Regions from separate parts of the Homo sapiens genome. Here region 2 is linked to region 1. The links are contacts of gene promoters, found by promoter capture Hi-C in human tissues and cell types (Jung and others, 2019). All regions are on one chromosome and are shown on one strand. Each heading gives the region's core, a stretch centred on a gene start or on the middle of the fragment in contact. The rest is flanking DNA. Distances are from core to core; before and after follow the strand shown. Region 1 holds the start of SLC12A2 (solute carrier family 12 member 2). Region 2 overlaps CCDC192 (coiled-coil domain containing 192).

Region 1 (4,314 bases), core at 819-3,318:
TGTGGAGCTGAAAGGTACTGCACGGATCAACTACTAATGCAGCAATTCCCTAGTAGAAAACTGCACTGCTTAAAGGACCACCTCATTTTTCTGGCCTCCTCTGGTTATTACTAAAGCTCAAAAGGAGCTTTAAAAATCCTGATGCAACAGCTGTTTTCCCCTCTCACCGTCTTTAAAAATAGAGATAATAAAATAGCCTGAAAAGTTGTCAAGTTCAAGTAAGATCATGTTTATGACAATTTTTTGAAAATTGCCTGGTTGCAGCTTTTACTTACAGCATTTTCAAACAGTTCTGCCAACTCTGTGGCTCTTTCATCATGTTTCAAGTGTTCAGCAAACGATGGTGTTCGTCTCCATAAAGTCAAAGTTTAAAAATACAAGGGCCGGGCGCGGTGGCTCATGCCTGTAATCCCAGCACTTGGAGAGGCGGAGGTGGGCGGATCACGAGGTCAGGAGATCGAGACCATCCTGGCTAACACGGTGAAACCCCGACTCTACTAAAAATACAAAAAATTAGCAGGGCGTGATGGCGGGCGCCTGTAGTCCCAACTACTCAGGAGGCTGAGGCAGGAGGAGAATGGCGTGAACCCAGGAGGCGGAGTTTGCAGTGAGCCAAGATCGCACCCCTGCACTACAGCTTGGGCGACAGAGCGAGACTCCGTCTCAAAAAAAAAAAAAAAAAGTACATAAATAAAAACCAAGTAATTGGAGGACGCCATTCATTGATTTTACTTAGGACTTTGGGCATAATCTATAGGTTTAAAAATTTCTGCTGCTAAGAAAGTGGGAACACAGTTATATTCCCTTACATTTTACCGAAGAGAAACTAGACCTGCAGAGGAGTACCTTTCTGTTTCTATATAAGCAGAGGAATTCTGCACAACCCAAATCACGCAGAAACCTCCTGGTAAGGACTCCACGGGTAGTTATTGCCGGCATTGTATTCTGAGAGATGAGCTGCATATCACTTTTGGAAATGCCTTAAATTAAAACTCGTCTTGAAACAACATGACGTCTCAAAGAAGCTCCCTTCTCACCTTGGAACATCAGCTTTTAAAATAAAGGTGTCATCAGAAGTGTGTAGACACCCACTGCATCACAACTGGAACTGATCTCTGGTTATGCCAATCTAGGTCTGCCTGGCAGGGTGAGTCTACCGCTCGAAAGCTGCACAGAGGAAATCCTCCCTCCTCCAGGTTCAGGCCCGGAGTTACGAGCGGAGATTCGCGGCGGCGGGTCAGAGCCCAGAGCAAACCAGGCTGGGGAACGCACCTCGCCCGCGGCTCCGGAAGCGGCTGCGGCCCCGACCGGAAAGCCCCCAGCATCGCCCGAAGGAATCGCGGCTGGCCTGCGGCTCCGGCCCGGCCTCGGGTACCACGCGCCTAGTGGGAAGCCGCACTGACGCCTGCAGCATCTCGCGAGATTTCGGGCTCAGCCCAAGTACTGCGAGTTCACCAAAGCGGGGGGAAAAAAAAAAAGCCAGCGTGCGAGAGCCTCTGAAGCCGTGGCTGGGGCGCTGGGGTGGCAGCTGCCGCGGGAGCATCAGCTACCGGCGTGAGGCGAGGCAGGGCACGCGCGCCGTCCGCAGCCCCGTTGCCTGGGCTGCAGGTCCACTGACGCGCGGCCCCTGGGTGGAGAGAGGGGAGGTGGCCTGGGAGCCCGCTCCTTTTCGCCGCAGAGCGCGGCGGGGGAGGGAGGTGAAGGCGTGGGAGGAAGGCGGCGGAAGAGGAGGTAGCCGCGCGGAGATCCTCCCGGCGACATCACTGAGGCGGAGCGTAGCCGCGCCTGCTCCCCGATCGCGCCGTTCGTGCTGCCCGCACTGCCCGAGGCCCTTTGCGGACTGGCTGGCCGCGCTCTTCGCACGGGGCGCTTTTGCGTGGGGTCGCGCAGGAGCCGCGGAGGGCCGGATCGCTGAGGGAGCGTCAGCCGCGCGCCGCTGCGGGACCGCGGGTGGGCGGGCTGAGGGGCGGAGGAGCCTCCGGCCCCGCCTCCCGCGTGCTGCTGCCGGAGCCGCCGCCGCCGCAGCCCCGCCGAGGCTTTAAACAGCGGGGCCCGCCCCGCGCCCGCCACACTCGCGCGCTCGCTCGGCTGCCGGTGGCCTCTGTGGCCGTCCAGGCTAGCGGCGGCCCGCAGGCGGCGGGGAGAAAGACTCTCTCACCTGGTCTTGCGGCTGTGGCCACCGCCGGCCAGGGGTGTGGAGGGCGTGCTGCCGGAGACGTCCGCCGGGCTCTGCAGTTCCGCCGGGGGTCGGGCAGCTATGGAGCCGCGGCCCACGGCGCCCTCCTCCGGCGCCCCGGGACTGGCCGGGGTCGGGGAGACGCCGTCAGCCGCTGCGCTGGCCGCAGCCAGGGTGGAACTGCCCGGCACGGCTGTGCCCTCGGTGCCGGAGGATGCTGCGCCCGCGAGCCGGGACGGCGGCGGGGTCCGCGATGAGGGCCCCGCGGCGGCCGGGGACGGGCTGGGCAGACCCTTGGGGCCCACCCCGAGCCAGAGCCGTTTCCAGGTGGACCTGGTTTCCGAGAACGCCGGGCGGGCCGCTGCTGCGGCGGCGGCGGCGGCGGCGGCAGCGGCGGCGGCTGGTGCTGGGGCGGGGGCCAAGCAGACCCCCGCGGACGGGGAAGCCAGCGGCGAGAGCGAGCCGGCTAAAGGCAGCGAGGAAGCCAAGGGCCGCTTCCGCGTGAACTTCGTGGACCCAGCTGCCTCCTCGTCGGCTGAAGACAGCCTGTCAGATGCTGCCGGGGTCGGAGTCGACGGGCCCAACGTGAGCTTCCAGAACGGCGGGGACACGGTGCTGAGCGAGGGCAGCAGCCTGCACTCCGGCGGCGGCGGCGGCAGTGGGCACCACCAGCACTACTATTATGATACCCACACCAACACCTACTACCTGCGCACCTTCGGCCACAACACCATGGACGCTGTGCCCAGGATCGATCACTACCGGCACACAGCCGCGCAGCTGGGCGAGAAGCTGCTCCGGCCTAGCCTGGCGGAGCTCCACGACGAGCTGGAAAAGGTGAGCTCGCCCAGCCCTCCCTTCTTCCCCAGCCCCTGGTGCATGCCGACCGCGGGATGTGGCTGCAGACTCTTCCCGAGTTGAGGTGGCGGGAGTAGTAGACGTGCACGACTTGCTGGCATCTCTGGATTCAGCTGTCAAGGGTGGAATTGCCGAGGAATGTTAACTTAATCTCTCAAAAGTTTGTAGCGGGTTTGGCTAGTTACGTGATACCGGAGGGCTGCCTCTAACAACCTTCCCCATCCAGTTAGGTATCTCGTGTGCACTTTCTTTCCCACCCACGCTCAACAGTCACCATCCCTCTGAATGACAGTAGTGTTTGTGGGCCCTTTAGAGGAGAATGTGCAGTGAGGATCTCTCGAGAGAGGTTGGAGAGCACCTACCATCTGTGTCGTTTTGAAAGATTGTGTTGTGTGGCTTATGTACGCCTATTAGGGATCGCAAGAGTGGGAATGTTGCTGTTTGAAGGAAAACCTTAACAGGGTGTGTTTATGGTCTATGAGTTATTAAAGCTCAATTCTTGCAATCTTGAATATACAAAGGATCATAGAGATCTTGTCTTGGGACACGCTGTTCCTAATAATGGCATAACTCTTTTTTTTTGCGATGAAAACGTTTTGGGAGAGGTGTATATTTAAAAAAAAAGGGACAGAGGCGAGTCTTTAAAGAAAAAAGGGAAACAGGAGAATTGGTTTTTCTGTAGAGGATGACCAGAAAGACCTGTGGGGTCTTTGCCATAAGCAGTTACACTTTGTAAACAGAAAACCATCCCCATAAACTCATTGATTTTTGTAACTATTTTTTATGGTCACATAAGACTTATTTCTTCAGCGTTCAATGTCACTGTTTTGAGATAACATTGATGCTTTTGAGATTTCGTTAATGTTTAACTTTTTTATGAGCCGGGATTACTTGAAGTCTTCCTTTACAAGTGTGTAATGACTACATTGATGGAATTTGTGAACGCAAGAGGATGGTACCACATAGGTTGAAATGATCACAGTTTGGACAAGTTTAAATCCAGTATGTGATTTCTTTTGGATATGATTATTTGATCTCATACAGTGATTTCATACAAGATTGTACTTGTCCCAGTGTTTGATAATGTAACATTCACACAGAGGTAATTACAGAGCTCTTACAGCTTATTGATTGTTTAAAAGCCTGAGATCATTTAGCTTTAGATAATACTATTCTTGTTATTCCATTGTGGTATTTTGTCATAATCAGAAGCAAAACAATGTCTAAAACATTTTTTATTCATACTCCTGTAGTTTCTATCAAGTCTATTCTTTTTTCTT
Region 2 (4,199 bases), core at 1,399-3,898, 270 kb before region 1:
ATGGGCATGTTTCCCCCTCAATGCTCTTTCCCGCATAAAACACACTTCCCCAGAGTGTGGAGCTCAGGAGGTAACCAAAGTAACCAAAGAACTCTGCCATGGTAACCCTTGCAAGGCTGCCATGTTGAGTTAAAGTGATTGTTGTGGATAAAAGCTTCACTGAATGGAAATGGAGGGTTGAGATTTTAGCCTAAACAGTAGCATGTTTAATGCTTATAAATGTGTAGTTTTTAGTTAATTGGAATAGCTAAAAGCTTAGTTGGGAAAAGACTCAGTAACATTTTGGGAGATCTTTCTATGACTTCTCCAAAACTGTGTTGCCCGAGGAATTTACTTTGCCTTTCAGCCCTGGATCTTAGAATAAGAATTTAGACTTTAGAATGACTTTCCAGCAAAGCAATCCCTTGCTGGTTAGTTTCAAGTCTGACATGTTTGGAAATTTGTGCCAATGAAATTCTAGCTGCACAGCTCCCACTGTTCTCCCATTCATGTCCTACGTACCTGTGTTGTCTTAAACATTGTTGAGGGTAAACAGTTGTTTTCAACATCTTCAGTATGGCGAATTTTTAAAAATATTTTTTAATTAGTTTTCTCTGATGGGTTTTTTTTATTTTTATTTTCAAGACAGTATGTGTTGGGAAAATTTCTGGCCTCAAAATATAATTCTTTGCACCTCTCATGAATAAATATTATGACAGAAGGATCTCTCTCTTTCAGCAATGACCATGTGTAGCCTTAAAAATGCTCAGTAGTAAGACTCTAGGCTGGTGTTTCTCTATCTGAAACTGTAGGTTCATGGGCATATTTTCAGATCTGTGTGGTGTATTAATAGACTGTGTGACCTGGGAGCTATTGTACACATCAACTTTAACATATTTTAGAAAGAGTCGATGGATATTTGTGTGCCATTTTCTGTTGACTCCCGCATAGCAGAGCAAACTAAATCTGAGGAAGATGGTGAAACGTCAGAACAGCAAGTAAAATTCTTCCTCTCTCTTGCTGGATTTCATTTAGGAGCAAGTGATCAAAGAGACTGAAAACCTGGAATCTTGAGGCTGGGTCTGTCCATTGGCACATTTGGGGATGATAGGGGGTGGGGAAAATCAGGTTTTACATGATTTCTATAAATTCACAGAGTTCCTGCATGGAATCTACCTTCAGCTTCACAGAAACAATCTTCTCTAAGCCTTCCAGATTGCCCACAGGAGTCTAAGGAGTTTCTTTAAAGAGAGATGTATGGGCTGGCTATGGCGGCTCACACCTGTAATCCCAGCACTTTGGGAGGCTGAGACGGGTGGGTCACGAGGTCAGGAGATCAAAACCATCCTGGCTAACAAGTGAAATCCCGTCTCTACTAAAAATACAAAAAAATTAGCCAGGCATGGTGGCGGGCACCTGTAGTCCCAGCTCCTCAGGAGGCTGAGGCAGGAGAATGGCATGAACCTGGGAGGCGGAGCTTGCAGTGAGAGTAGGTTGCACCATTGCACTCCAGCCTGGGCAACAGAGCGAGACTCTGTCTGAAAAAAAAAATAAAAATAAAAGAGAGAGATGTACAAGAAAGAGAATTTGTCAAAATCCATGACTGATTATATTTGGGATCAGGTGTTATTAAATATACAGTATGTATATAAAAAGTACAAAAATCACATATTTTGTCTCTAAAAGGTTTCATCCATCATTGGTTAGATAAAGCTATTAGACAATGTACTTTAAAGAAGTTGAGATACATTAATATGTGTTAGAGAAAAGTAATGAGGAGGGGAGGGGCTTATGATGGACTTGGCAAAGAAATCATGATTTGGAGTTAGTGTTCTGGAGAGAGTGACTTAGAAATCAACATACTGTTGTGTGGATAAATATTTTATAATTAGCATTAAACATTACAAAGGGTTCAAATTGCATCAGTAAAGCTTTTTAGAGGGAATTTGCTCATTGAACCATGAAAAGGGGGGATTTTCTGCAAAGGAGGCAGACAGAGATTTGCTAGGACCCTAAAGCTAATAAGCAAATTTGGGATAAGCTTGTACTTAGTTTAGCTTTAGTGGGGCTTCTAAGGTAGAGTCCTGTGATATCAGTCATGTTCTTGTTTTACAGAAATACCAGTTTAAGCAGAATAGGTATTAAGTGAAGGCCATGGCTAACTCTCACTCTCCAGGAGAGCCAGAGAACCAGATTTGGAAATGGAAGCTGAAACAATGGTCAAATCACACCACAGAACTTCCCCAGGTAGCTTCCCACTGCTGTATAGTTCTAGCTGGTACCTCTGGCTCTGTGCACTGGAAGCCTCCACTAGAACTTTTGCTTCTAAACAGGGTGTTTCTGCTGTGAACAGAGGGCACATAGCAGCTATTCTTATCTGAATTCTGGCATAAATGTTTCAAGCCTTGCACTGAGGATGCGAGGGAGGCTTCTGCTTTGAGAAAGTGAGGTCTCAAGGTGGGGAAATAACCAAGCTTAGGAAAAGTGTTCAAAGATGGTTGGCAGGCAAAAAGAATGCTATAGTTCCATCACACCCAGTAAGTTTGTGGGTCTCAGATAAAAGAAAATCAAGGCAAGTTCAACTGTAGGCTGGAAAAATATTAGAGTTCTTAATGATTGACTTATTCCATGCTATTTGTTTCTTTAAACCTTGTCCTTCAATATATCTGGATTTAAATTTGTCAAACAAAGGTGATAATGTGATATTATTAGTTATTCATATTGTTAACATTTTTCTTATGAATCATAATTGATTGGATGCTGTGATAGTCTTTCTTTTCCACCTATTACCGGGTGCAATGTCACACCTGTTGGCAGTTGGTGGCTTACAGGTACAGTGCCTTGGAGGAAATAGTGACACCCTAATAAAGTGATTCTCAAATTTAGTGAGTCTTAGGTTCACCTGAAAGCCCTATTTAAAATACAGGTAGAAGAGTTAAAATATGACCCAGCAGTTCTGTTCCTAGGTATATACTGCAGAGAATGGAAATATGTCCACACAAAAGCTTGCACAAAAATGTTCATGGCAACATTATTTACAATAGCAAAAAACTGGTAACAACTCAAATGTCCAGCAATTGATGAATGGATAAACAAAATGTAAAATATTCAACTAATGGAATATTATTTATCCATAAAAAGGAATTCTGGTTCATACTACAACATGGACAAACATTGAAAATACTGTGTTAAGTGAAAGAAGCCAAAAACAAAACTCCACATATTGTAAGATTCCATTGATTGAAAATGTCCAGAATAGGTACTGGTTGCCATTGGCCTGAGGGGGTGAGATGGATAAGGAGTGAGGGAGTGACTGCTAATGGATATGAATTTATTTTTGTATTTATGAAATGTTCTGGACTCCGTAGTGATAGTTGCACAACTTTGTGAATATACTAATATTGCTGAATTGTACACTTTAAAAGGATGACTGCTATATCTCAATAAAAAATAAAAATGAAAACAGATTCTTGAATTATTTCCCAAAGAATCTAAATGCATATCTAGGATGAGGGCTGGAAACATGTATTTTTATTTGGATGCAGCTGATCTCTGAACCACGCTTTTAGAAACATTGCATCTAGTCCTTACATGTGTAAATCTCCTAAGCTATGACATTGTAGAAGTAGTCATACAAATCCACAATTCTTCAAAGTTCATGACCTTGCTTTAGAAAATATCCGTAAAAATAGTACAAATTACTATCAGAAGAGTCTTCAGAATAAAGTATATGAAAAAACCCAGCATAGCTTTTTCCCAAATCACTGCTCTAAAATCAATGGGCGTAGTGATTTTTAATCAACATGATATTTACATATTTTTTTGCTTATAACCTGCTTGCACTCTGGAATAAATAAATTGCTACCTCTTAATGTCACTTGATAAGAGTCTAAAATACTTGAATTTGAATATATAAATCCATTAATTTAGCAAAATTTTAACATCAGTCTTATGCATTGGGTTGACATACTAAAGACTGAGTCTCTAGGACTTTGTCATCTAATGCAGAGGTTTTCAACCTTGGCCACCATTGAAGTCAACTGGGAAACATTTTTTTTAAAAAACGAATCCTGGGTTCTACTCCTAGACATCCAAAATTCTATTGATTTGGAGTACAAACAAGACATGGGGACTTTTAACATTTCCTCAAGTCATTCTAATGTGCAACCAAAGTTTGGAATTACTGCTATCAAGAAGAGATTACATAGAGACCCCATACA

Evidence for each region. The method cuts DNA at HindIII sites, captures the fragments that hold promoters and counts their contacts. A contact is called where the count stands out against the background at its distance.
Region 2: a fragment that was not itself captured here is called in contact with the fragment with the promoter of SLC12A2 in region 1 in 2 of the 25 tissues and cell types used here (IMR-90 fibroblasts and hippocampus).

What each region holds. Positions count from the first base shown.
Region 1 is chr5:128,081,698-128,086,011 of GRCh38, forward strand. SLC12A2 (solute carrier family 12 member 2) reads left to right here and starts at 2,069. Exons shown (of 27, transcript NM_001046.3): 1 at 2,069-3,013. The coding sequence starts at 2,258. SLC12A2-DT (SLC12A2 divergent transcript) reads right to left here and starts at 1,478. Exons shown (of 4, transcript NR_152813.1): 1 at 1,273-1,478. RefSeq lists a silencer at 1,733-2,562 and an enhancer at 3,053-3,222. The HindIII fragment of the contact is 27,841 bases long and covers 1-4,314 here.
Region 2 is chr5:127,814,348-127,818,546 of GRCh38, forward strand. The region is part of intron 5 of CCDC192 (coiled-coil domain containing 192); the gene reads left to right. Among named protein-coding and RNA genes, the nearest start is that of CCDC192, 110 kb to the left of the region's middle. The HindIII fragment of the contact is 4,888 bases long and covers 205-4,199 here.